Regions from separate parts of the Homo sapiens genome. Here region 1 is linked to region 2. Evidence: promoter capture Hi-C in human tissues and cell types (Jung and others, 2019). All regions are on one chromosome and are shown on one strand. The core of a region is centred on a gene start or on the middle of the fragment in contact, and the rest is flanking DNA. Distances in the headings are between cores, read along the strand shown.

Region 1 (2,700 bases), core at 79-2,578, 1.0 Mb before region 2:
TTATCTTAATACATCGATCCTCTCCATTGTAATATTTAGTCTCTTGTGTTTCACAGAGCATTTATTTTAAAGTAACAGTTCTCAGTTTTCTCTCACAAAAATAAGCCTTCTTTATTGGAGAAATTTAGAAGCTACAGGTGGTCAAAAATCGTATTTATGGTGTGCATTTTTTCCATTTTGTCATTTATCTTTGATCTTTGTATATAGTCTTTTTTCATATAAAAATGTTCAATTTACATGAACACAATAGGGTCTTGCAGATGGAATTAGTTAAGATGAGGTCACAGTGGATTAGAGTAGGCCCTAAATTCAATGACTGGTGTTTTTTGTTTGTTTTGAGATGGAATCTTGCTCTGTCACTCAGGCTGGAATGCAGTGGCACGGTCTCGGCTCACTGCAACTTCTGCCCCCTGGGTTCAAGTGATTTTCCTGCCTCAGCCTCCTGAGTAGCTGGGGTTATAGGTGCACATCATCAAGCCCAGCTAATTTTTATGTTTTTAGGAGAGACAGGGTTTCACCATGTTGGCCAGGCTGGTCTCAAACTCCTGGCCTCAAGTGATCCACCCAACTTGGCCTCCCAAAGTGCTGGGATTACAGGCGTAAGCCACCGCACCTGGCTGTACTGGTGTTTTTATAAGAGAAAGAAGAAAGGGATACGGAGACACATACAGAGGGAAAAAGGCCATGTGAAGACAGAGGCAGCAACTGGAGTGATGCAACTGCAGGCCAAGGAATGCAAGGATTGCAGGAAACAACCATTGCTAGGAAGAGGCAAGGAAGGGTGTTTTTCTAGAGCCTTCAGGGGAGCATGGACCTGTTTGATTTTGGACTTACAGACTTCAGAACTGTGGACAAATAAATCTCTGTTGAGTTAAGCAACCTCGTTTGTAGTACTTTGTTATGGCAGCCCTAAGACCCTAAGACATGTATTTTTCAGGATTTTGATATGTATTTCCAAGTTGACATGCAATTGCTCCTGCAACATGTTGCCACCAGCAGTGCACAAGACTGCCCACATCCCCATATTGCCACCAATTTAATATGTACCAACTTGATAGGCAGAAAAGGTATCTCAACATTGCATTAATTAATATTTCTTTTTTCCCCTTAGCTTTACTGAAATATACTTGACAAATAAAAATTGCACATATTTAAGGTATATAACGTGATGTTTTGATATATGTGTACGTTGTGAAATAACTGCCACAATCTAATTAGCACGTCCATCACCTTACATAGTTATGATCTGATTAGTACAGTCCTGTGCTGAATAATGACATTTCAGTCAATGATGAACTGCATTTATGACTGTGGTCTCATGAGATTATAATACTGTATTTTTACTGTACCTTTTCTATGTTTAAATACACAAAAACTTACCATTCTGCTACAACTGCCTATAGTATTCAGTACACTCATAGTACAGGTTTGTAGCCTAGGAGCAATAGGCTATATCATATAGCCTGGGTGTGTAGTAGGCTATACTATCTAGGTTTGTGTAAGTACACTCTATGATGTTCACAGGACAAAATCACCTTAAACAATGAACGACTGTATTTCTTTGATTTTTAGTGAGATACCACATATTTTTCATGTTTTTATTTGTAATTCTTTACTGAACTGCCTACGCATGTTCATGCCTAGTATTTTACTGAAGAGATGGTCTTTTATTGCTAAGAGTACTTCATATGTTGACTTTTTAATCATTTCCCCACCATGTTGCAAACATTTGTCCAAATTTATCATTTTTCCTTCAATTTTAATGTTCAAAAAAATGTGTAAGTTTTCCCTTATTATATCATTAATCAGTGTATTCCTTTATGATTTCTGTCCTTGCTACATGTTTAGAAAAGCTTTGCCCACCCCATATATACAATATTAATGTATAAAATATATATTTACCCAAATTTTATTTAGTACTTTCATAATTTATTTTTGTACCTTTAAATTTTTTTTTTTTTTTTTTTTTTTTTGAGACGGAGTCTCGTTCTGTCGCCCAGGCGGGAGTGCTGTGGCGCGATCTCCGCTCACTGCAAGCTCCGCCTTCCGGGTTCACGCCATTCTCCTGCCTCAGCCTCCAGAGTAGCTGGGACTACAGGCGCCCGCCACTGCGCCCGGCTAATTTTTTGTATTTTTAGTAGAGACAGGGTTTCACCGTGGTCTCGATCTCCTGACCTCGTGATCCGCCCGCCTCGGCCTCCCAAAGTGCTGGGATTACAGGCGTGAGCCACCGCGCCCGGCCACCTTTAAAATTTTATTCCATCAAAACTAAAATTTTAATTTTAATTAGATGTATATTTCTAAGTAAATATTTTCCAAATAACATTTTGATGATTCCTAGTATTTTCCAAACAAGTTTTTAAATTTAGAAAATTAGTTTTTTAAAATTTATTTCCAAAAAATAATAGGCAGTTTTAACACCACTTGCTGAATAATACATTGCTTTACAAGTTATTTGAAATGCTGAAATTTGCAAAGCAATCATTCATTATTATTTTTTGGGCAAGAGATTTATTGAAATATAATTCACATACCATCCAATTTACCCATTAAAAGTGTACAATTTAATGGTTTTTAGTAGATTGCACAGAGGTGTGCAACAATCATCACAATCAATTTTAGAATGTTTTCATTACACCAAAAAGACCCCTGTACCCTTTAGCTGTCATTCCCAATCTTCCCATGCCTTCTAGCTTTAGG
Region 2 (2,700 bases), core at 13-2,512:
CCTGGTCTTGAACTTCTGATCTCAGGTGATCCACCCTCCTCGGCCTTCCAAAGTGCTGGGATTACAGGCGTGAGCCACCTTGCCCGGCCCTGCACGTTAATTTTTAAGGCAGGACCCACTGGCTCCTGATAAAAACAACTATTTGTACCCCTTCTGATTTTTATTTATAAAGGAAAGGAAATTTTTCTTTAAAAAGAATGAACCACGGCTGGGCGCGGTGGCTCACGCCTGTAATCCCAGCACTTTGGGAGGCCGAGGTTGCAGTGAGCCGAGATCGTGCCATTGCGCTCCAGCCTGGGCAACAAGACAGACACTTCGTCTCAAAAAAAAAAAAAAATTAACGTGCCAGGGGCTGTGTGAGGGAAATAAATATTACAATGTCAAACATTACGCTAGGGTCTATGGTAATTTCATCAAAAACAAAAGAAGTTGACATTTACTGAATGTTCCCCATGTGCCAGGCACAGTGTTATGCTCTTGCTTTGAGGCTTTGTGAACACCATGAACTCCAGCAAATTTTCTTAGCTTTCGTATGCCTCGGTGTCTCAGTTACCGCACTTGGAAATACTGCGGGTAAGCGCTCAGCGACTGTTTGCTACAGTTATTGTTATCCTCACACCAGGAGGGTGGCGTCACCGCTTCACCAATAACCTAGATTGGCAGCGAATGTGCACCAAGCTGAGCTTTCCCAGCCCTCGGAGTCGCCCGTTTCCTTGGCAGCCACGTCCGGGTTTCCCCAAGCCACCATTTATCTGTTTGTTTTTTGGCGGGGGTGGGAGTTGGCAGTGACGCGAGGAAGTTGGGGCCCAATGAACGCCGGTTTTTCGCTCAATGGCTCTGACTCGCTCTCCAACCTGAAACCACGGTTCAAACCCGAGGAGAAAAGGCGCGAAAGGAAACCCAGTGGGCCCTCCCCGCGCCGCGCAGGGAGGAACCGAGGCGGGAGAGCCACCCCGGAAGAGGGGCGGTCCGGGCACTGACCTTTACTCTCCCGCCGGAGTCAGGCCCAAATTCGGCCATTCTCTTGAACATATTGTCCCACGGAAGAAGCCGCCGCCGCCAGGGAAAGAGACCGGGGCTGGCGGGGTCGCCGCTCCCCTCAGAGACCGCGCTCCTGTCGCGCGGGCCCAGGCGGAGGGTTTCTAGCCGAAGGAGGGCGAGTTACTTGGGCTCACGGCGGTGAGTAACCGTCAACTCCTCAGGCCGACTGTGCTCCTGAAGGCCATTCAGGCCCGCGCAGGTGGAGAACGCCGCGAAAAGAGGGGCGACGGCCGCACCGCGCGCAGGCGCAACGGGCTCGCGTATGCGCACGCAGTGTACACTGCGCACGCGCCTGGCGGCTGCAGTCACATCACAGGACCAGTGCAGGAGTTCCAAACCAAAAAAAAAATGAAAGGCAGGAAATAATAAATGACTTCAAAAAGTTGTCCAGATGTTAAGGAGATGAGTTTCCACACTGAAAGATCCTACTAAGCACCCAGCACAAATATTAAAGCATCCACGTCAAGGCATATCATTGTGAATTTTCTGAACATCGAGGAAAAAGAGATCCCACACCCTTCCAGGTTATACAGACTATAGAATCAGAGTGGCTTCAGATTGCTCAGTTAGAATCTAGGAAGCCATACGGCACTGTCTTCAAAACTCTGAGGGAAAATTACTTCCGATTTAGTCTTCAATACTCATCCAACTACCAATCTAGTGTGTGAATAGAATAGAGTTTCAGATGTGCTAAATCACTACACACAAAAAATAGTACCTATCTTACCTTTCTCAGTACCTCCAGGAAGATCCTGTAGATCTGATCCACCAAAATGAGGGAATAAGCCAAGAAGGAGGAAATTATGAAATGCAGGAAATACAATAAATAACAAACACAGAAAATAGTAAGATCCCAAGATGATACTGAAAGAGCTCCGGGAACAATAGCTGTGTATAGGCATAGACGGCAACGCATCTAGATTAGATTCGGTCAGAAATCTTTGGGAGACACTGCTTCAGAAGGATGGGATTGACAAAATTCCAGCTGGCGTTGAATCAAGAGGAGATTTGACCGAGAGTTTGGAGTTTAACTCATGACAGGTACACAGAAAACTAAGCGGCTGTAAGAATTATGCAGCTATTAATTCTAGGGAAAACAAAATCTTGTGCAAGAAAGGAAAGTAATTGTATTTATTGTTACATAAATACTGAGTATTGGCCGGGCGCGGTGGCTCACGCCTGTAATCCCAGCACTTTGGGAGGCCAAGGTGGGCGGATCACGAGGTCAGGAGATCGAGACCATCCTGGCTAACACGGTGAAAACCCGTCTCTACTAAAAATACAAAAAAATTAGCCGAGCGTGGTGGTGGGCGCCTGTAGTCCCAGCTGCTTGGGAGGCTGAGGCAGAAGAATGGCGTGAACCCGGGAGGCGGAGCTTGCCTTGAGCCGAGATCGCACCACTGCACTCCAGCCTGGGTGACAGAGCAAGACTCCGTCTCAAAAAAAAAAAAAAAACAAAACAAAAAAAAACTGAGTATTGATCCCCCCTCCCCCTCAAAAAAAGAATTACATTTAGAAGGATGGGCTTTGGAGAAGGGTACTATGCTTGATGGGGATGGAGGAGGAGGAAATAGAGCTTAATCTTTAACTTCCATAGTAGGAAGTCAGTATCTTAAAATGGAAAAATCAAGAAGAAGCAATATAGGTGTAATATTGAAA

The links. The method cuts DNA at HindIII sites, captures the fragments that hold promoters and counts their contacts. A contact is called where the count stands out against the background at its distance.
Region 1: a contact is called between a fragment that was not itself captured here and the fragment with the promoter of YEATS4 in region 2, in 1 of the 25 tissues and cell types used here (dorsolateral prefrontal cortex).

Annotation. Positions count from the first base shown.
Region 1 is chr12:70,381,706-70,384,405 of GRCh38, reverse strand. The region is part of intron 1 of KCNMB4 (potassium calcium-activated channel subfamily M regulatory beta subunit 4); the gene reads right to left. Among named protein-coding and RNA genes, the nearest start is that of KCNMB4, 17 kb to the right of the region's middle. The HindIII fragment of the contact is 3,527 bases long and covers 1-2,700 here.
Region 2 is chr12:69,358,305-69,361,004 of GRCh38, reverse strand. YEATS4 (YEATS domain containing 4) reads right to left here and starts at 1,262. Exons shown (of 7, transcript NM_006530.4): 1 at 982-1,262. The coding sequence starts at 1,032. RefSeq lists a silencer at 728-887 and enhancers at 313-914, 1,168-1,357, 915-1,518. The HindIII fragment of the contact is 10,052 bases long and covers 1-2,700 here.